Linked DNA regions of Homo sapiens: all the other regions are linked to region 4. The links are contacts of gene promoters, found by promoter capture Hi-C in blood cells and fetal thymus (Javierre and others, 2016). All regions are on one chromosome and are shown on one strand. The core of a region is centred on a gene start or on the middle of the fragment in contact, and the rest is flanking DNA. Distances in the headings are between cores, read along the strand shown.

Region 1 (2,986 bases), core at 1-2,500, 6.1 Mb before region 4:
GAGGCGGAGTTTCGCTCTTGTTGTCCAGGCTGGAGTGCAATGGCGAGACCTCCGCCCACTGCCACCTCCGCCTCGCGGGTTCAAGCGATTCTCCTGCCTCAGCCTCCCGAGTAGCTGGGATTACAGGCGCGCGCCACCACACCCATCTAACTTTTATATTTTTAGTAGAGATGGAGTCTTACCATGTTGGCCAGGCTGGTCTCGAACTCTTGACCTCAGGTGATCCACCCGCCTCAGCCTACCAAAGTGCTGGGATTACAGGAGTGAGCCACCGCGCCCGGCCAGAGACCACTGTCATCTTAAGACAGAACGGGGAAAACGTCTAAGGACGAAATCAGCCTCTCTGAATCGAGGATGCTTATATGCTGCTTTTCCCATAGGCAACTCTAACTCTAAACAGAGTGCTTTAGAACACGTAATTTTAGCAATCTCTTTTACAAAGGGAAACATTCTCAAGCAATAAAGGGTTGAGGATAGCTGACTCAAGCAATGAAATAACTCACAAAGGTTCCAAAATGTGTTTCTTAAAAAGGTAACATCTATGCCTTTAGCTTTCCCTTAGCAGTCTTCATTCTGCATAAGAATTTGGTTTTTGGTTTAAGGAGTGAATTCACAACCAACTGGGAGGGGGAAAAAAGCAAAAGCGAGTTAAGTTGGAAGGCATGAATTCTAATCCAGGCTTTGCCAATGACCACCCCTACCACCATAAAACATTACTCAAATAATTAGCTCCTGTGTTAAGTACCTGGAATTACCGAGACCCCCCTCCCCCCGCCCCACTCAGCTCCCTCCCTCCTTCAAAGAGCTCGCAGTCTGGCCAACTCAAAAAAATACAGTATAAAAATAAGTGTGGCAGCCAAGTATCAGGCCCTACACCGATAGACAGAGATGGTATTTTAACACTCAACTTAAAGGCCTTAAAAATCAAAAAGTACACTTCTTTTCTTCTGATGACTGGTCAAAATGCAGGTCTAGGACAGGCGCTCCTCTAAATTTTGCTTCTTTACTGGCCGCCACCCCTACTCGGATGCAATCTGAACCTCCCGCCTCTCTGCCCGGAAATAAATTCAGTTACTTTTTTTCTTGGTGTCGCCAGCAGGTTCCTCTGTTCCCGGGGAAACTGCAGCGGAAGACGGGGGCTCCGGGGTGGTTGTTTCTGGGGAGACATCCGTAAGTCCTTCCCCTCCAGCAGCAATTGAAGTAGGAAGCTGCAACACAGACTGCGGCTCCTCCGCCATCTTGCTTGGAGACACTCGAGAGCGGAAGTAGCGACTGAGCGCGTGCAGTGGGCGTGCTTTTCTCCAGGGAGCGTCGCAAAGGAGGCGCCGGAGTAGGGGGACGCAATTACACAGTGAAACTTGGTGTTCCCGGCTAGTCATTCAAATCGAAGCTGTCGCAGACCTCTGAACGTTAGTAACGCAACATGTGTTTCTCCGCGACTACAGACCTCGGGAGAGGAGCGGTGGGCAACGTGTCTGTGCTCGGTCGAATGCGCACACTCCAGTTAGGCCGCTGGCTCGGACCTAGAAATGTTTCCGCTTTCCTTAGTGCCTGCCCCGCCCAGGCCCCGCCCCTTGGGCCCCGCCCGACGGCTCGGGAGCGCGCGCGGTCGCGTGCGGGAGGGGGCGGGTGGGGAAGGATCGCAGGCGAGATTACGAGGCGAGGCTCGCGCGCCCGCCCCCGCCCTGGCCCCCAGTGCCCACCCGGTCGGCCCGGCACAGCCATGATCAAGGCGATCCTAATCTTCAACAACCACGGGAAGCCGCGGCTCTCCAAGTTCTACCAGCCCTACGTGAGTATCCAGCCGCCGCTGATCCGGGCGAGGGGGAGTCGTTGGCGACGGGCAGCGCCCAGCGCGGCTTTCTCAGAGCGACCCCCTCCGGCGCGCTGCGGCCCTTGTCCCGTCCCGGCCGCCTGGCGCTCGCCAGCTGTCAGCCTCCTGGTGGGTGTGGACAGGGTGCCCACCTCCCTGCCGCGCGGTCAGCCACCGACGTGGCTTTGCCCGGGCGGTTCCTCCGCCCGTCGGTGGGCTGCATGCTTTCCTGGCTGCGCGGGCGAGGCCCTGGAGACTTCCCGGGGCCCGGCCCTCGCCGATCGGGCAGCCGCAGCCCAGCCGCGCCGCGGAGCCCTGCGCCCAGTCCCCAAGAGCCCACCCCGCGCGGCTGCCTTCCTGCCGCCCGCGGCTGCAGTTAGCCCGGGAGGAGGAAGACGGCGTGGAACTCGTTCTTCTCGCCCCCCTCCGCCGACTCCCATCCTTTCCAGGTGGACTTCTTTCTGTTCTTTGGACAGATGGGCTACCGTTTTTCACTGTGGTCCTCTCATAGCACAGGAACTTTGGCTTCCTGCGTTTGATAACTGCACGTTCTGTACAGTCTCTCTTCTGCATGTTTCGATACGTGACAGACTGCCCAGTGTGACTTTCAGGTGTCTCCTTATTGAAAAGGAAGATATGTGAGGACCTAATATTTTTATCAGGCTTTTTACCAGCTGGCTGCAAATTATTTACCCTCGAAGTAACCGGCGACGTTTGTAGTTGACTGATTGGAGCTGTGGTTCTATACCTAAAAGTTATGATTTCAGCTTCTGGTTTGGCATTTTTCCACGTATGGGAATTTGCCCTCATTTATAGTTTTTTTCTATTTATGAAGAATAGTAGCATTTGTAGAACTTCTCTTTTAACGTGTAAATACTGTTTAGTATGGACAAGTGCAGGAGGCATTAAGGTAGTAGAGATAAGTGATTTGTTGATGATCGAGGAAGGGTTTTATAGAGTTATGTGCTTACCTGAGGGCAGAATTCGCTAGCTGAAACACATAAAATTGGACTCCCAGTGGTAGGATTAATGTGAGGTATAACTGTTGTGTGGTATTGTGGCACTTTGCTTATAGCAAGAAATGAGCTTTCAATTCAATTTTGAAATTGTGCCAAGGCTAACACTTTTATGCAGATAAGTCCCAGATGGAAATCAATCTTGCCATTACAAAGT
Region 2 (3,249 bases), core at 529-3,028, 5.9 Mb before region 4:
TCAGGGTGGTGAATATCTTAAATACCCTGACATGATCATTACACAGTCTATGCATATAAGAAAATATAACACATATCTCATAAATATGCAAAAATATTATGTATTGATTAACAAATAGGCTTTGTGTTAGATGATTTTGCTCAACCACAGGCTAATGTAAGTATACTGAACATGTCTAAGGTTAGCTAAGCTAAGCTGTGATGTTTGGTAGATTAAGTGTATTAAATACATTTGTGAATTATTGTATTTTAACTTAACGATAGATTAATTGAGGCATAAGCCCATTGTAAGTCAAGGAGCATCTGTATATTCTCTAGAAGTCCTCTGTGAGATATATGATTTGCACGTATTTTCTCCTAATCTGTAGCTTTCCTTTTCATTCTCTTAACAGTATCTTTCCCAGAACAGAACCATTAACTTTGATGAAATCTGTTGTATTTTTTTTTTCTCTTTTCATGAACCTACTTCTGGTTTTCTAGGAATTTGCAGCCTAATCATGACATAAATATTTACTGTTTTCTTCTAAATGTTTTACATATTTATATTTTATGTTTAGATCTAAAATCCATTTACTGTTAATTTTGTATGATACATAAAGTGCAGGTCAAAGTTCATTTTTTCTATGTATGGATGTTCATTTGCTCCAATGTGATTTGTTGTTAAAATTATCATTTTGTCATTGAATTACCATGTGTTTGTCTAAAATCATTTGATATTTTTGTGAGTCTTTTTCTGGAATCTCTCTTTGATTTCATTGACTTATTTGTCTATGCCAATATCACACTGCCTTAATTATTATAGCTTAATAGTAAGTGTTAAAATCAGGTATTGTGAACCCACTGACTTTTTTCTTCTTTTTTATAATTGTTTTGGCAATCCTAGTTTCTTTGCCTTTTCATATGTTTGAAAATCAGCTTTTGTATTTCTGTAAAAAATCCTGCTTGGGGTATTGATTGGGGTTGTGTTTAATTTGTAAATAACTTTATTGAGAAATGACTCCTTAATAAGTATTGAGTATATCTATTTATTTAGGTCTTCTTTGATTTCTTTTATCAGTGTCTTTTGTTTTCAGCTTATCAATCCTGCCCTTATTTTGTTAGGTTTGTACCTTAAGTACTTTTTCTTTCTTTTTTTTTTTGTTGTTGAACTATTGGTAGTATTTTTCAAATTTTGTTTTCCAATGGCTTATTGATAGTATATGGAAATACAGTAGACTTTTCTATACTGATCTCTATCCTGTAACTTGGTAAATTCACTAATTAGTTTTAGCAGCTTTCTTATAGGTTTTTTGTGATTTCCTTTGAAGGCAGTCACGTTGTCTGTGAATAAAGACAGTTTTATTTCTTCCTTTTCAATCTGTAGAGCTTTTATTTTTCTTGCTTTATTTTACTGACAAGGACTTCCAACGTGATGCTGAATAGGAGTGGTAAGTCTGAATATCCTTGCCTTGTTCCCAATTTTAGGGTGAAAGCATTCAGGCTCTTATCATTAAGTAGGATGTTAGAAAATGCCCCTTTATTGTTTTCACTTCTCTACTTCCCTTTTTAAAAATTCTGTATTCTTACTACTCTCAAGTGTCTTCTATGTCATTGCTTCATTTTTTATCATTTTAAAGTCTACTTTTTCCTATATCCTCTATAGATTTTAAGCTTTCCATTTGTTTCCCTGCAATTCTTTTTTTAAGCCATTTTCATTTTTAAAAAAAATTCTTGGCTTTTTAATAGTAGCCTGTTTTCTGTTTATATTTTTCCTATATTTTATACAGTCCGTTTTTTTCCTTGCACTTTAGTAGTCATAACAATTAAAAATATTTTTGTTTTCTGCTTCTAATAGTAAATTACTTTTTAGTGTCTTCATGATGAAAGTTTGTTTTTTTAAAGGTAATATTTTTCCCATAGTTGGATTACAGAAGCTTCTCTTTAAGAAATTAATTAATCATTTGTCATATAAAATATGCAAATAAAGAAGTTGGAATGATCTGATTAATTGTACATTGTCCCATTGAGAATGCTGGAAATTATCTTTTGGTAATTCTGGGTATATCATAGGATTGCTAATATACTATTTTAAAGTCTGAAATGCTTAAATAATATAATGATAACAAGCATTTATTGTGCTTATTGTGGGTCAGATGTTATAATGAGTTCTTTGTATGTTACAAAACCCATTAATAGTTCTAGTTTATACATGTACTTATAAAATTGAGGCTTAGAGAGGTTTAAAAAGTTGCCCATGATTGTACAGCTAAGTAAGTGGCTGAGTTGGGATTTGACAAGAATAGTCACATTCCTAAGCTATTATGCTATCCTAACACATAGATGTTAGCTGCGGAATTTTTCTGCGTCAGGCATTATGCAGGGTGATTTATATAGTTGTTTGTATGTACTTCATATTAGTCCATTCTCACATTGCTATAAATAACCTGAAATAGGGTAATTATATAAAGAAAAGAGGTGTAATTTGCCCACGGTTCTGCAGGCTGTACGGGAAGCATGATGTGCTGGCATCTGCTTGGCTTCTGGGGAGGCCTCAGGAAACTTACAGTCATGGTGGAAGGTGAATGGGGAGCAGGTGTCTTTCATGGCAGGAGCAGGAACAAGAGAGAGAGGGAGGAGGGAGGGGCTACATACTTTTGAACAAGCAGGTCTTGCGAGAACTCAACTATCACAAGAATAGCACTGAAGGGATGGTGCTAAAGCATTCATGAGAAGCCTGCCCCCATGATCCAGTCACCTCCCACCGGGCCCACCTCCAACACTGGAGATTACAATTGCACATGAGATTTGTTGTGGTCACAGATCCAAACCATGTCACATACCTTTTAAAAGTGAGGAAATAAAACTTTAGAAAATATTAGTCACTTTATCATATTATCCCAAGTGGTCCATGATGAAACTGAAATGAGGATTGGATCTGTCTGTCTCTAAGTCTTATTCCTTTTATATCATGCTACCTCTGGCAGCTGTAATGCTATCTTTCTTTTTCATTCTGAGAACTGTTTAGGATACTGTGGCCAAAATAGCCAGATGTGAAAACAGATCATGCCATTTAAATTGTAACAAAAATATATTACACTGACTTATATGATGAAAAAAGGTGTACATGCAATGACTTTAACTGTTTTATGGTAACTTAGGGTCCTACCCACATAAACTGTGGGGTGCTTGCAGCAGAACACATGTTGGTAGTACAGTCAGCCCTCTGTATCCCTGGATTTCGTATTCATGGATTAAACTCGCAGCAGATCAA
Region 3 (3,185 bases), core at 500-2,999, 6.3 Mb before region 4:
CCTCCCTGACCCACTATAGCCAAATCATTACCAAGTCCTGTTGATTCTACCTACTACCTTCTCTCCAATCCTTTCACTTTTCATTTACCCCACTGCTATCACTCTACTCTAAGCCACTATCATTTCTTGTCTAGACCACCATAATAACCTCCTAATCAGCCTTCCACATCCGCTCTGCAACATCTTACCATCACTTCTCTACCTGCACAAGTTATTATTAATGCAGCTACCAAGAATATTCTCGTCATATCACTGAACTGCTTATAACCCTCTGATGGCTTCCTACACTTTCAGGAAAAACAAATCCTTAACATGGTCAGCAAGACACTATCTGGCCTGCCCCTGCTGACCCCCTTGCTCTGGCTCCTTATTCCCAACCATATTGGACCTCTCTCTATGGCCCTGAAATTCTCAGTGTTCACTACTACCACAGGCTATTCCCCCTCCTCCCTTACCAAGGTGTTTATAGCTCATCCTTTAAAGTTCAGCTTAAAATAATTTTCCAAAGGAAGTCTTCCTTCATGGATCCTACTTACTGCTCTTAAGGCACAGTTCTGATGAATGAGCAGATACCAGTTAAGAAAAGCAGGGTGAGAGGGGAATCATGAATGATGGCAGTGACCCTATCTGTTTCGACCACTTCTGTACCACTGGCACCTAGTATTCAATAGCTACTCAAATGTTAAATGCGCCTACCAACCAAAATTGAAGCTCAGTAAAGACTGTTCTAACCAACCGAATAAACCACATTCTGTTAAAGTTTCTTTTTTATATAATCCCAAATATCAGAAGGGGCCTCTCATTTATCACAGCAATTCTTTCTACAACTCCCTTGGCAAATGGCCGTTCAACCTGTAATGGAGCTCTTCCAATGACAAGGACCGTATTAACCAACAGTCCTAATATTGGTAAAACTGAAAAGCAATGAAGTTAGACATTGGCAGCACTCCAAATCCAATTAAATTGGAGGTGTGGATTAGAGAGTAGAGGGTTGACACTGGGTACTACAGAGTATAAATGATTTTCTTTAAGGGAATCTTTTAAGGAAGAAAGTTCAATAGGCCTTAAAAATGAGATGGAAAGAAATGCTAAAGGGAGCATTTCTGGAATTCATATATTTTAACACCCGGTCTTAACATCTCTCACCCAAGGTTTATTAGAGGAAAGTCAAATGCTGGGCATCAGCTACCTAGAAGCGATTTTTGAATTAGCCTAAGAACGGGGAAACACGGACAGGAAAGTGCCATCCCTCAAGTTACACCCCCAATCCTGGAGCCGCGAGTTGGGGCCCAGGGACTGCTAGGCCCCTGATACCTGGAACTCCAGGGTGCACTTGGTGCCCTGAGCGATGTCCTCGTAGAAGCACTGCTTGGCGTTGTCAGGAAGCTCGAAGGTGATCTCAGAGGCGCCGCCGGGTCCAGGCACCAGTAGCAGCAGTGCGAGCAGCCTGCACCCCCAACGGCCCGCGACGGCCGCCCAGCGCTGCGCGGACCCCGGCCGCGGCATCCCGAGAAGGCGGCGGCGGCCTCAACCGAGCTGCGAGACGCAGGGTCAGGTCTGCGCGGACTCACCGCGCGCGGCAGGCCTCAGCGCAGGCCACCCCGCAAAGATACACAGCAGAGCAGGTTCACGCCTGTGGGAGATTCGGGATCAGAGCGACCCTCCGGCTTCCTGTGAGGGGCGCAGACGGGCGGACCTGGGGAGGTAAAAGAGAAGCGGAAAAGGCCTGAGAGGGTCGGAAGTGGGGATTAGCCTTTCGGGGGGTGAAGGGGCGGAGCCTGAGACACCGGCTCCCGTGACCCGGATGCGTTCTTCTCCGGGAACACGCGTTGGAGTGCGTACGTGGAAGCCCGCGAGGCGTTGGCTCTGCCTCCGTTGCAGCCTGGGACGAGGGGCGGGGCCAGAGTCGTGGGCGGAGAGGGGCGAGACCAGGAAACGGGGCGTGGCGGCCGCCGTGGTTACAGGCGGTTGGCGAGGGTAATTACGCTCCAATCACTGGCTTTTTTTGTTGTTTTTTTTTTTTTTTTTTTGAGACAAGAGTCTCGCCCTGTCACCCAGGCTGGAGTGCAGTGGCGCGATCTGCGCTCACTGCAACCTCCGCTGGGAACTTAGCGCTGGGGAGCATCTAGGGAGTGGTAAAGGGCTCATTTTGCCCTAGGGTGCTAATCGTTGGTGGTAGAGCGCTTTGCAATTTGCGGAGTTTTCTCATAAGTAATAATAAATATTTGGGGGAAGCAGCTGGGCAAGGAGCGCGAATTCTAAGAGCAGACTGCAGGAGTGCTTAATCCCTGCTTTGCCACGTACTGGCTGTGTGACGTCCGGCCACTTGCTTAAATTCTCTGCCTCAGTGTGTATCTGTAGAATGGAGATAATAGCACCTACCATAGAGAATTATTACAAAGTACCAATATTTGGAAAAAGTACCTAGAAGTGGTTGGTACATAGCAAGCACTAGATGAACTTTTGTTAAATTAAACGTCACAGTGCAATCAATACATTACATACCACAAGATAGGCAAAAATTTTAAGTGTAACAATAACAGATATTGGTCGACTTATAGAGCCACAAAACCTCTTATACACTGCTAGTGAAAAAGTAAATTGGTTAATCAAGTTGGAAAACAATGTGCCATTATCTAATAAAGTAGAATATATGTATACACACACAGAACACACACACCTATATACAGTGTGTGTGTGTGTGTGTGTATATATGTATATATATATATATATATATAGCCTGGAATATGTAGCCACAGCCTGGAAATTCCATTTTACATATATTTATGGAGTATATGCTTTAGAGCAGTGGTTCTCAAGTGTTGCTCTGAAGTCCCCAGAAGCCTCCTGAAACCCTTTCAGAGGGTATGTAATGATCTGTATGAAGCTGGATTTTCATTATATATTTCAACCAAAACAGCATAACAGATTGAATATCAAAGGAAATGAGCACCCAGCTTCTTCCTTAAATCTAGATATGAAAGATTTACAAAAATAAGGTCACTCTTCTTGCTAAATTTTTATTTCGAAAATATTTTTATTAAAAGATGTGTTATTTATGTAAATGTGTGCAGTGAGTTGAATTGTGTCCCCCTAAAAAATACATGTCCAAGTTTCAACCCCTCCACCCCTGTGAATATGATTTTATTTGGAAATAGGGCTTTTGCAGATGTAATTAAGTTAAG
Region 4 (3,009 bases), core at 36-2,535:
GTCACCACGGTCGGCTAATTTTGTATTTTTAGTAGAGACGGGGTTTCTCCACGTTGGTCAGGCTGGTCTCGAACTCCCGACCTCAGGTGATCCGCCCGCCTAGGCTTCCTAAAGTACTGGGATTACAGGCATGAGCCACCACCCTCCGCCGGAAGAAACGTTTTTCCTGCATTTTGAATAAAGGGGCCTGGATTTTCATTTTGCACTGTACCCCAGGTATTATGTAGCTGGACTTGAAGTCCTGTAGCAGTGGACAGTCCCAGGCAAGTGACTCTGGGCGAGGCACTTGGTGCCTCTGAAGTCACTTTCCACATCTGTAAAATAATAGTTCAGAGCAGAGTAGGGTGGCTCACTCCTGTAGTCCTAGTTATTTGGAAGGCTGAGGTGAGAGGATGGCTTGAGCCCAAGAGTTTGAGGCTGCAGTGAGCTATGACTGTGCCACTGCACACCAGCCTGGATGACAAAGAGAGACTGGGTCTCTAACAAAATAATATTAATAAAAGGAAAATAATTTCTATCTTGTTGGATTTCTGTGGAGATTTGGAGCTAATTTATGTAAAGCTCTTGGACCACCATTTGACACATTTTAATGGTCAATACTAGAAGGTGTTGACAATTATATATTACCTAATTCAAACACACTCCCTTACGTCTCCTATGCTTGCCGGCTAATAAACAGCCATTCCCACAGGCAGTACCAAATGTGTATCCTGGTTTTGCTTCAAATGTTTATTCCCTAAATTTAAACCCTTCTATAGTGTGCAGGAAAAAAATGTCCGCACCTCAGCTATAATGTCAGGTTGTAACAAAAAACTGCGAGGATTTAAAAAGGTGTGCTTGTTAGAAAAGCAGAAATCTTCACAAATACTAGATTTAAAAAAATGGAAGCAAAAAATCGTTCATTCAAGTGATCATTTCAGAAGAGCTCTTTCACCGCCGTTCAGCGCCCCCCTAGCCATTAGAGAGAAAAACCAAGGCCGGTACAATGCGAGCGCAGTGTACCAAGGGAACACACACACACACACACACACACACACACACACACACACACACACACAAACCGAATCTTGAAAAACTAGACGTTGCCCAGCTACCAGCCCCCGTCTGGTTTCCATAGGAACGCGCAATTCCGTTGCGTAGCCCTCTGCGCCGGTAGTTGTTCTGTCTCAGTTCCGGTTTTCCCTTCCAAGCGTCAATGTTTCTTGTTCCCAGGCGGCAGCTAGAGCAGAAGGCGGATGAGTTTTGGACAGAAGAGGCTTCCGTTGAGGGGCGTGGCGACGCAGCCGCGGTCTGAGAGACCGGTTCACGTGCAGGCAGCGGCGGATCATATTCCTTCATCTACCATGGCTCAGCCGGGAACTCTGAACCTCAATAACGAGGTGAGCGCCGAGGAACCTATGGGGCTGACTTTAAGGGTCCTCAAAACCAGCTCTTTTGAGACGCGTGGTCGGAGGCGGGCATAGAGGGTGCGGTTGGAGGAACTTTCGTGGTGGGCCCAGGCGGGTTTCCCGCAACTTGGAGTTTGGCAACCGGTAATTTCCCTTTTCGGTCTCCAGGTGACTAAAGTGAGAGACATGTGTCAGGCCCCACGAATTTATGTCTGTGGGACTTTGGGAAGAACCTTTAGCCTGTACGTTCAATATTCTCGTCTGTAAAGCGGAACTCAAGATAGTTCGTCCCAGGGTTGTGAGATTAACTGAGATACGTAAAGTATTTGCAAGTGCCTGACCCTTAATAAACTTTCAGTACACATTACCTGCTCTTTATTGCCTGTCGAAAATGAAAGAGAGAAAGTAAGAGCTGTAGCTTCTAAGAAATTGGTGGTCTTGAATGAGACTGTATGCTCAGTACTTCGTTTCCTCTTCCAGTTAGTGTCCTATTTCTTTGCTTCCGTTTACAGCAGAACTTCAATAAAGAGCTGTTTATACTTGCTATCCTCAATTCTTTTTTCTGCTTTTTCAGTCCATTCTCATCAGACATTTGTTCTCACCACCGTCACTTCCATAGTGTGCGGTGTCGACAAAATACCATTTCTACCACTTATCCCCCTCTGGTTTCTGCTTCTATTCAACAAAATAATGTCATCCAAAGTCTTAAAGTAAGCTGGAAACATAAGGATCGAGTAAGGACCTCACAGTTAGATACAGAAAGGAAATTCTTTATCCCGTTTATGAGCAAGTCACTGTTTAGATTACACACAGTAGTGTAAGGGATATTTCATATTTTCTAGTAACCTATACTCAAGTAAGAGAGCTAAGCAACACTCACCTGTGTTACAGAACAATGTGTGAAGAATGCCTCCAAAACCTAGTAATGCAGAAAAGTTTCCAAAGGCGGCAAAATGAAATGGGTGATACTTGTCCTTGGTCTTTAGGGATCTTGCACAGGAATTGCAGTCAGTGATTCAGGAAAGGGGAAGAAGTCATTCCAGGCAGAGGGACTGGTATAAGCAGGAAAGGGCTAGTAGCAGAAGAACCCGTGGGTAATACAGGGATAAGTAACTCTTCACTGATGGGAACTTGTGAGATGAAGAAGGAAATAAAACTGAAATATATTCTCTGCTGCCAGATTAACGAGTCAGGATTTCAGTTGACAGTGGAGTACAGGATATGCTGAAGAGGGAAGCTGAAAGTAGTTACTATTTACTCATAAACATACATTAAGCTTGTGCTTTGTGCCAGAAAGCGTTTGGTGGGCTATTTTGCATTAGGTTACCTGTGATGTATGAAAGATCAGAGTAATGTCCCTGGGATTTCAACCCCAGGGAGCTTCATATCAAATTTTGTAATGACTTTGATGATGGAAATGACAGGGGATGAGTCATTAAAGACTCTTTTCACACTTAGCTAACTTTTGTTCTTCTTCAAAACAGTTAAAATTTGACCTTTAGGAAACCTTCATTAACTCCTCTCGGTCTGGGTTAGGTGTCTGTTCTTTGTGCACCCAGATTGCTTTCTCCTCTGGAAACACTTATGTAACTGTTTCTGTCTTCCTGTGTTTATGTGTCTA
Region 5 (3,084 bases), core at 239-2,738, 6.1 Mb after region 4:
CCAAAATTCAAAACACTTATGAGAGCCAGATTGGCACATTTGGTCATATGCTCACAATTTGGCTGGGGCAGGCAAGCTCCTCTATTATGTCCTTCCAAAACTACACACAGAGAGGTAATTCCAGTAAAAGAATTACCCCCACCTCACCAAAGAAACAAAACAAAACCCAAACAAAAACAACAAGAAAAATGTGTATGCTATTACCACAACAAGAGAGAATGGAAACCCCACTTCTAGGATACAGTAATGGTCTTCTATAGATATCAATGGGCAATTCAGAAATAAAAATATATAAATGATTAAGAAACTTTAAAAACTATAACCTCACTAGAAGTCAATGATCTGCAAATTAAACTTTTGTTGTTTTTTTTTTTTGCTAATCAGATTGACAAAGATTAAGAAAGATTTTACTCTGACTTTATAAGGGTGGTGGAAGGCAGAAATTCAAACACAATGTTGACAGAAGGATAAATTGATAATAACCTTTCTGAAAATCAATTTTGATATGTATGCCAAAAGTTTTAAAAATATACATACCCTGCTATTTCACTTCTAAGAATTTATCCTAAGGAAATACTCAATTAAGAAAGATATATGCACAAAGACATCCAATGTAGCACTGCTTGCTCTTATTTAAAAATGAAATAAACAGGGTTCAAAAATAGGTGATAGAGTCAGTAAATTATGATAAATCTACATGATGCAATATTATGAAGCCATTAGAAATCATGCAATTGCAAGATATCCATTTTCATATATAGAGAAATGTTCACATTACTGGTTTTAAAAACTATAAAACATACCATAAATCATTTTGTAATACCATAAACAGGAAAATGTTATTTCAGGGTGATGGCATTATAAGTGTTACTTCCTTTTGCTTTTTTCCTATGACTTCTATATTAATTATTACTTTATAAATAGAAAGATGTTATAAATAATAAATATCTACTTGACTTATAGATATTAAATTCTTGATATATATCCTATTATATATCAAGAATTATATATTATATCAAGAATTATATAATATGGAATATATATCAATAATATCTATCTATATTATATAATATATATTAAGAATTTTATGTCTCTAGAAATTGGTTACAATTCAACCAGGCATGGTGGGTGTCTCAGCCTGTAATCCCAGCACTTTGGGAGGTCAAGGCCGGCAGATCACTTGAAGTCAGGAGTTCGAGACCAGCCTGGCCAACATGGTAAAACTCCATCTCTACTAAAAATACAAAAATTAACCAGGCCTGTTCGTGAGCACCTGTAATCCCAGCTACTTGGGAGATTGAGGCAGGAGAATCACTTGAACCCGGGAGGCAGAGGTTGCAGTGAGCCGAGATCATGCCACTGCACTCCAGCCTGGACAACAGAGAGAAACTCAGTCTCAAAAAAAAAAAAAAAAAAAAAAAAAATTGGTTACAATTGAGGTGGAATTTTAGTTCAAATCTCTTAAAAAACAAGAAACATTTCTTGACTAATCAGAAGAGCTGATACTCAGGGCCATATTCAAAGTCAGCTGGTACTTCAGTTTTAAATGAAAACAATTACATGAACCGTAATAACCTGCCTTTACCTTCATACTCATGTTTTTAAAAACTGCCATATTGAACCTAATAGTTTTGGCCCACATTTAAAGGAAGATTAAATTACTTGGAAAGGGCCCAGAGGACAGTAATAAAAATAATTACATACTTAGAAATTTGGTCCTATAATGACATGCAAGAGGAAATCATTTAGAAAATAAAACTGAAAATAACCTTACACTTTTACGGGTTACCATAACCTCTGAAGAATGGGACAAGAAGCCAAAGAATTGAATTATAATGAGAATAATTTAATTTAGTCATTAGGAAGAACATCTTATTCCTCAATAAGTATTTGAGTGATTATTAATGTCCAATGCTATGGCATAAGGACTTGTAACCACTAGGATGTGTTACTAGAAATTATTTTCTTAAAAGTGTCAGAGGTAGAATATTGTGCAAAGTAGGGGCTTATTACATAACCCTTTAAGATCTTTTCCATATTTATGATTTTTACAAAATTTCAGGCATCTAGAATAATTATAAAAACATATCTTATTTTTATGGCTTTTTAAAAGTGAAAATAGATTAATAATTAAGAAATATAAGAGGATAAAAATATTAGAGATTTTTCATTAACATTGAGGAAAATATAAGTATACAGTTAGTTAGGAAACGCATTATATTATTTGACTCCATAAAGGGGAAGCAATTAAACTAATTATTAAGATATGAGTACATGTGTGTTAAGTGTCAGTATTTGTATTTTAAATCTCTTTTTTTTTAAAGTATAGTGCAATGTAGTGAATGCAGACAAAATGTTCCTATAACATATCTGTACAGATTTTTTTCTAAGACGGGAGTCTTGCTATGTTGTCCAGGCTGGTCTTGAACTCTGGGGCTGAAGCGATACTCCTGGCTTAGCCTCCCTAGTAGCTGGGACTACAGGCACACACCAACTTACCAGTAACACATTAGTTTTAAGGGGCTCAGATGAAGGAAAATAAAATGGATTTAAGATGAGTAAAAAAGAATCCTCCTTTGTCTGGGCTTGTTCCATCTTCCAAATATGTAGCAGCAACATAATGACACTAAAAACTGCCCTAAAAATCTGTAACAGAAAAAAAAAATAGCTTACATGCTACTCAAAAAATTACCTAAATACCTCTCAAAATCAAAACAAAAAGCAAAGTAAAAAATAAAACAGGACATACTTGCAAGAAAAGATATGACCTAAAGGTTGTATCTTAGCCCTGTTTGTTTTTTGAATAAAATATTAAGTTTTAAGCATTTATTTACTGTTTACATACATTAGGCCTTACCATATTATCAGGCACTATTCTAAGTATTTTACGAATAGTACTTTATGTAATCCTCATAGCTCCACAAGTATGAGGGTGTGGTGGCTCATGCCTGTAATCCTAGCACTTTGGAAAGCAGACTGCTTAAGTCCAGGAGTTCAAGACCAGCTTAGGCAACATGGCCATACCCTGTTTCTACAAAAAACAAAAAAATTAGCCGGGGATGGTGGCCTGCACCTGTGGTCCCA
Region 6 (3,029 bases), core at 49-2,548, 8.4 Mb before region 4:
CTGGCTTAGTTAGGGGACCTCTTACTCTGGAATCTTATAGTCCAAAACGGGGAATGTTCTAGACAGAGAGATTCTAAATTCACATTAAAAAAAGAGAAAGCCTCAGCAATATATAACAAATCCCTCTGAAATAGTGAAATACGAATTCTGTACAGTTTTGAAAGCAAAGACAATGGAGTTTCATGTTGAGAATTCATAATATTTGAACATATCTCATCATTGAAGAAAATAAACATTTTGTTAACTAAACAAGTAGGGACCAAGTTAAATATGTTCAGTCATTATACCAACTCAAAATTCCAGAACAAGTAAGAGGAGTCGTTTTTGGTGAATATCAGAGGCCTTTATCACATTTAGGTTTAATACATAGCTGTCTTTTTATTAATATCAGAATTCTGATAGACATTCAGTAGTTATTGAATTAATAAAATATCTTAATTTTATTAATTTACATAAATAGAATATGAAATATAAAGTTAACCTCAAATAAAGTATAATAAATTTGATTGTCTATGTATGTTTTTCATATTTTGTATCTGTGTGTTTTACTTGAGAGAAAATTGCCTATCTACAAATTTTACTACTTTGTTTTTTTTCCGTGTAGAAATGGAATTTCCTTCTTCTTTGACCAGTACTGAAAGAGCCTTTATTCATCGACTCAGTCAGTCTCTTGGTTTGGTCTCTAAAAGTAAAGGGTAAGCTGGTAGCTTTTCTTATTTTTTTTAAAAAAGATTATTTGCCCAAAAAAGGGAGAAACGTTTCTGAGTACATTTAAGTACTTATTACTGTTTTAACTTCACATTCTTAATTGTATCATATGTAGATAAAAGATTCAGGTCTGTACCAAATTCAACTCTTTCCTCTTCCCTCTGTCTACCTCTTCCCCCCTTTTTTGTTTTGTTTTGTTTTTCCCTAGGAAAATGCTTTTTCTTCTACCCAGCTTAGGTTCCTTGGCTGGGACCCTGCAAATTAGACTGATAAAAGACATATTAACAAGAGAAAAACATAAGCTTATTAAGACATGCATCATGCATACATAGGGGAGAACTCGATAGTAACTCAAACATGGGGCTTATGTGGCATCTTAATAAAGAACAATGAATTTATTTAAAAAATGACAAGACAAAGGAAAAGGACTTTGAACTTGTAGGTGCAGTAAATTGTGGGAAGGTATATGTGGGGAAACTAATGGAAGATATGTGTTCTTTTAGCAAGGTTGGTTATGTAGGTTCCCCTGGTGCTGTCTCTATTAAGAGTCTAGAGTGGTTTCTCTTGTTAAGAATAGTCCTTCCCTTTCTGGTAAAGCAGGGGAAGGCGGAGTTTTTCTTATGTCTGCTTCTTCTCGATTGCCTTCAGCTCAAAATAATCCTTATGGCAGAGTGACATATTTTTGGGTGGCATACCGTGAACTCTTTCAAAGGTAAATTTTAAGATGTAAGAAAAAAATAGTTTAAAAGTTGAAGTTGATTGCTTGAGAAAAATATTTTTATTTTTTGATAGAAATCTCATTTGAAAAATGGATGTACAAAAGATAGTTGCAATTATTTATGGAACTTACTTCTTTTACTGTTACTGCAATATAATAATAAGCTTTAGAGCATATGTTCATTGTTTTCTTTCCTACCAAGTCAAGGATCTGATGATTAGAAATGATTTTAAAAAGTGGTACAGGAGGAAATTGTTTTGTTTTGTTGGGAGGATCACAGAGTTACATTGAGGGAAAAGTCATTTGAGCCATCCAAATTGAAAAACTCTAAAATTCTGTGGCGCTATTTCATTTTGTTAATAAGGATGGTGGGATCAATGTAAAGGAAGCTTTCTCACTGTTGGTGCTATTGACATTTTGGACTGGATAATTCTTTATTCTGTTTTGTGTACTGTAGGGTGTTTAACAGCATCCATAGCCATTACTACTACATGCCACTAACACTCCTAACCCCAGTTGTGACAACCAGAGATGCTTCTAGAGGTTGCCAAATGTCCTCTGGAGAGCAAAATTGCTCAGGTTGAGAACTACTGACATAGAGGGAAGAAAAGGATAAAATTTCAGCTTACCGGTATGTTTTTAGGTTAGGAAGAGGGAAAACAAAACTTTATTAAGTAAATATATTAATAAATATTCAGATGGTCCCAAAGTGAAAGCAGCTGATGTAGGAATGTCTTGCATATGACTGCCTACTACAGTGATAAATTACTGAGACACGGGATTTAGTTTAGGTGAATGTGCGTTTTGAACATCACTAAGGCCAGTGCTGGAACAGTGGTTAGATTCCTGAATGTGCCCATCTTATAGTCCACTAGGTAGGTAAAAATACTGCACCTGAAAATAAAAATATAGTTCAGTGCCACAATACTTTATCCAGAAACACTTGGGCTAAATATATTTGAGATTCAGATTTTTTAGACTTTAGAAAGGTATTTGGGTATATTTGCAATATGTTGTATAATCTACCTAATAAAATATGGCCATCACCTTTAGTCACATTTATATTTTTGCTGGAAATTCTATGAATATTCACACTGAGACTATTAATAACCTCATGTCAGTTTAATCACGTGATCACATTTGATGTCAAATGAGGTTACTGCAAACTTAAAAGTTTCCAGTTTTTGGCACTGTTTGGGTTTACTAGTTGCAGGTAAGAGGTTTTGGGCCTGTGCTTGGAAACACATGTTATAAATGTACAGTTCTGTAGCTACATCATTTCTATGGTTACATGGGTCTTGCATTCTAAACAGCTAACTTAGAAAAGCAGTCCATTAGAGTAGACTTCCTGTCCTTCTCTTCAGTAGCATAGTCATGTAAGAGCTGATCTGGAATGAATAGATATCTTGGGAAGGAGAATTCAAGAAGGAAGTTATGGAGACAAAAATGGGGAATGCGGAAACATTGAAGAGCCAGAGAAAGAAGAAAAAGGAAAGAGATGCTAAGGGAAGCAAGGCAATCCTGCCTATTTATCCAGTCCCTAATACCTATAACCTTAATGCTTTCAAACCTTCTTACGAAATACCCTAGCTCCTTCTCTCTT
Region 7 (2,860 bases), core at 307-2,806, 5.9 Mb before region 4:
TTTCTCATCAGCACCCTCATCTCTACTCTGCCTTCAAATTAAAACTCTCTTCCCTCTTTGCTGATATCTGAGAAAATGTAGCTTTAAGATTTTCAAAACTCTGTAGTTGAGAGCTTTTCTTACATAGAACATAGAATCTTAAATTTATAATATCTAGTTGTCCTTAGAATCTTATACATCACTAGCTGTAAATCAGAATTGCCATTTGGATTTTGAAGAAAAACTGTGACTTTGCACTGTATACCCATAGCCTCATTTTTTTATTGTTCATGTTTTAATAACATTAAAATGAAATTTAGTAATACTTGGTAGTATTTTTAATCATTAAAATTTGTATTGTACTTGTAAAATTGAAAAGTTAGGAATTTATTATCCTAAAAGCCAGGAGTTTACATATTTTTGATTTCAGAAGCAGTATTTCAGGATTTGTTTTTCATAGAGAGAAAACAAGTTATACAAAAATGATTTTCTGTATGTTTGCTAATTGAGTGTGTTGATAAGCAATTGACTAGATAAATGATGTAGTCTTTTCAACTTTGATACATCATCAGAGCTATAAAATATTGAATTCAGCTTTCTTTGAATTCATTTTTTTATGACAGTCTTTTTTTTAACCCTAAGTCAATGGTTCTCATTCATGAGAATTGCCTAGAGAACTTGTCAAAACATAGATTTTTGCAGCCCCACATTCAGAATCTGGGACAGGGCTCAACCATCTGTTCCACGTTCCCAGGTGATGTTGATGCTGCTGATGTGGGGACCACACTTTGAGAACCACTTCTCTAAATTATTTTAGATACATAATGTAAGGAAGTATTTAAACCTCATTGACTATGATACTGCCACTGCACAAAGCTGGAAGTATTTAAATAAAGTAACGTAATAAAAATTTAAAAGTAAATAAAAGCATTTAAGTTTTAAAATAAATTTGAAATAGTATAAATAGAGGGTTTTTTGTTGTTGTTGTTTCTTTTTCTTTTTTTTTTAGACGGAGTTTCCCTCTGTCACCCAGGCTGCAGTGCAGTAGCGCGATCTCCGTTCACTGCAACCCCCGCCTCTGGGCTCAAGCCATTCTCGTGCCTCAGCCTCTCAAGTGGCTGGGATTACAGGCTTGCACCACCACTCCCGGTTAATTTTTGTATTTTTATTAGAGACGGAGTTTCACCATGTTGGCCAGGCTGGTCTCAAACTCCTGACCTCAAGTGATCAGCCCGCCTCACCTCCCAAAGTGCTGGGATTAGAGGTGTGAGCAACCGTGACCGGCCTTTTATAAATAGAGTTTTCAGGATTTATTTTTCCTTCATAATCAGTTTAACACTCACTTCTGCACAATCTACTTGTGCCAGGGAACGTTTCTGACAGTTCTGGATTTGTTGCTTGACGTATGTTTTAGGACTAAAATAAGAAAAGTCCTAAAAGTAATGGTGTGACTACAGTACACCTGTCCACGGAGCAAGAGAACTTACATTCTTCTGCATCATTCTCCATAGAATTTACTGGGTTTTCCAGATTTCACTTACTTTTACTGAGCATACACTGTGAACTAAACATTGTGTTAACACGGTAATGAATTGCATTTCCTTTAACCATCACAGCCCAGTAAGGAAGACGTAAAATCAAATTACCCAAATCACATTCTTTGAAATGCTCACCAGGAATGTGCAGCCGGGAAACCAGTAAAAACAAGCAGGGCCTTTTTCAGTTTATATCTTGTTTTATTTTTGAGAATAATTATTATTTTGTAATTGGCAGACCAAATGCATTTATTACTTCTTCATTTTAGAATCATATAATCTTAGAGCCAAAAAGAGCCTTGCAGCTCATCCATATAGTGAATTAGTCGACAAATACTAACAGAGAGGCTGCTCTGTGACAGGCAGCAGGCTAGGTGCAGGGGACCAGGCAGTGAACAAAATCTGCAGGGCTCCTGTCTTCATGGGGCTTATGGACTAAGGCCAAACTCTTTTTTGTTGTTGTTGTTTTTGTACCTTTGCAACTGAGGAGATTTAGACCCAGTGAGATTAAGTGACTCAGGTAAGGACACACAGAAGAATTGGCAGCCCTGGTGTTTTGAACACTAAGACTAGGTCAGAGCTCTTTCAATGATGCCACGTATTTCCTACACTACGGTCATTAAGTGCTTTTAATATAATAAACATTCCTAAGACCCATCCCCAACCTCAGGAATCAGAACCTGTAGGAATGAGACCTGGGATTCCATAATTTTAAACAAGCATTGCAGTTAAGTCTTATGATCTGATACATCTGAGAAACACTGCCCTATATCATCAGTTGTCCAATTTTCATGCTAAAAAATAATCCTAGGCAAATTAGCATTAAAGCCTCCTTCCTTTCTGTCTCCTCTTGTCACTCAGTCTTAAGGATTAGATAAAGGAATCTGGTTTAAAATGATCTGGCTTAAAAAGTGTGTTGAAAAATTATACTGGTAAATTTTCCAAGTAAGGCAAAAAATAAAGTAAAAAACTGCATAATTAACTAAGCAGACACCTAATACTGCTATCATGGAAGCCTAGTAAAGCATTTGATGAAGTACACTTTTAGAAATCAGGTTATTTCATCTTGATCTAATGCCATTTCAGTGTATTTCTAAAACTTCTCTTGCAATAAATAATTATTACAAAAATAAATTTATGTGAATTGTCTAAAACTTATTTTGCAAGTGTCTAATTTTTATTACAAAGTGAATAAAGCTCTTTAGCTATTTGAACTAAATTCAGATTAACAAGGAATGCAGCTGTACTATCTGATTACATTACCCAAGGAAATCGTCTTGTCAGTGTGACAGGACTTTTTTCTGCTTGGCTATCTTTCAATGCTGATAGCATGTCTTCATGAATAT

Evidence for each region. Contacts are between HindIII fragments. The CHiCAGO score rates a contact against its expected background, and 5 or more counts as called.
Region 1: the fragment with the promoter of ATG12 here is called in contact with the fragment with the promoter of SRFBP1 in region 4 in 2 of 17 cell types (total CD4 T cells and naive CD8 T cells); the score reaches 5.8 in total CD4 T cells.
Region 2: a fragment that was not itself captured here is called in contact with the fragment with the promoter of SRFBP1 in region 4 in 1 of 17 cell types (naive CD8 T cells); the score reaches 5.4 in naive CD8 T cells.
Region 3: the fragment with the promoter of TMED7 here is called in contact with the fragment with the promoter of SRFBP1 in region 4 in 3 of 17 cell types (non-activated CD4 T cells, naive CD4 T cells and activated CD4 T cells); the score reaches 13.7 in non-activated CD4 T cells.
Region 5: a contact is called between a fragment that was not itself captured here and the fragment with the promoter of SRFBP1 in region 4, in 1 of 17 cell types (naive B cells). The highest score is 5.6, in naive B cells.
Region 6: a contact is called between a fragment that was not itself captured here and the fragment with the promoter of SRFBP1 in region 4, in 1 of 17 cell types (total B cells). The highest score is 5.9, in total B cells.
Region 7: a fragment that was not itself captured here is called in contact with the fragment with the promoter of SRFBP1 in region 4 in 1 of 17 cell types (naive CD8 T cells); the score reaches 5.9 in naive CD8 T cells.

The regions. Positions count from the first base shown.
Region 1 is chr5:115,840,315-115,843,300 of GRCh38, forward strand. It overlaps ATG12 (autophagy related 12), which reads right to left and starts at 1,251. Exons shown (of 4, transcript NM_004707.4): 1 at 1,076-1,251. The coding sequence starts at 1,238. It overlaps AP3S1 (adaptor related protein complex 3 subunit sigma 1), which reads left to right and starts at 1,621. Exons shown (of 6, transcript NM_001284.4): 1 at 1,621-1,792. The coding sequence starts at 1,724. RefSeq lists enhancers at 114-614, 618-1,519, 908-1,207, 1,218-1,267, 2,258-2,467 and silencers at 1,498-1,877, 1,978-2,167. The HindIII fragment of the contact is 16,491 bases long and covers 1-2,986 here.
Region 2 is chr5:116,095,209-116,098,457 of GRCh38, forward strand. All of the region lies in intron 4 of COMMD10 (COMM domain containing 10), which reads left to right. Among named protein-coding and RNA genes, the nearest start is that of COMMD10, 12 kb to the left of the region's middle. The HindIII fragment of the contact is 263 bases long and covers 1,648-1,910 here.
Region 3 is chr5:115,624,287-115,627,471 of GRCh38, forward strand. TMED7 (transmembrane p24 trafficking protein 7) reads right to left here and starts at 1,750. Exons shown (of 3, transcript NM_181836.6): 1 at 1,315-1,750. The coding sequence starts at 1,506. TMED7-TICAM2 (TMED7-TICAM2 readthrough) reads right to left here and starts at 1,750. Exons shown (of 4, transcript NM_001164469.4): 1 at 1,315-1,750. The coding sequence starts at 1,506. RefSeq lists a silencer at 1,406-1,475 and an enhancer at 1,646-1,815. The HindIII fragment of the contact is 9,571 bases long and covers 1-3,185 here.
Region 4 is chr5:121,960,690-121,963,698 of GRCh38, forward strand. It overlaps SRFBP1 (serum response factor binding protein 1), which reads left to right and starts at 1,286. Exons shown (of 8, transcript NM_152546.3): 1 at 1,286-1,379. The coding sequence starts at 1,344. RefSeq lists enhancers at 939-1,477, 1,222-1,271. The HindIII fragment of the contact is 3,156 bases long and covers 1-2,662 here.
Region 5 is chr5:128,074,448-128,077,531 of GRCh38, forward strand. All of the region lies in intron 1 of SLC12A2-DT (SLC12A2 divergent transcript), which reads right to left. Among named protein-coding and RNA genes, the nearest start is that of SLC12A2-DT, 7.2 kb to the right of the region's middle. The HindIII fragment of the contact is 4,703 bases long and covers 1-3,084 here.
Region 6 is chr5:113,514,668-113,517,696 of GRCh38, forward strand. YTHDC2 (YTH N6-methyladenosine RNA binding protein C2) reads left to right here. Exons shown (of 30, transcript NM_022828.5): 2 at 605-695. Among named protein-coding and RNA genes, the nearest start is that of YTHDC2, 2.5 kb to the left of the region's middle. The HindIII fragment of the contact is 580 bases long and covers 1,009-1,588 here.
Region 7 is chr5:116,059,186-116,062,045 of GRCh38, forward strand. ARL14EPL (ARF like GTPase 14 effector protein like) reads left to right here. Exons shown (of 4, transcript NM_001195581.2): 4 at 1-304. Among named protein-coding and RNA genes, the nearest start is that of COMMD10, 24 kb to the right of the region's middle. The HindIII fragment of the contact is 4,719 bases long and covers 1-2,860 here.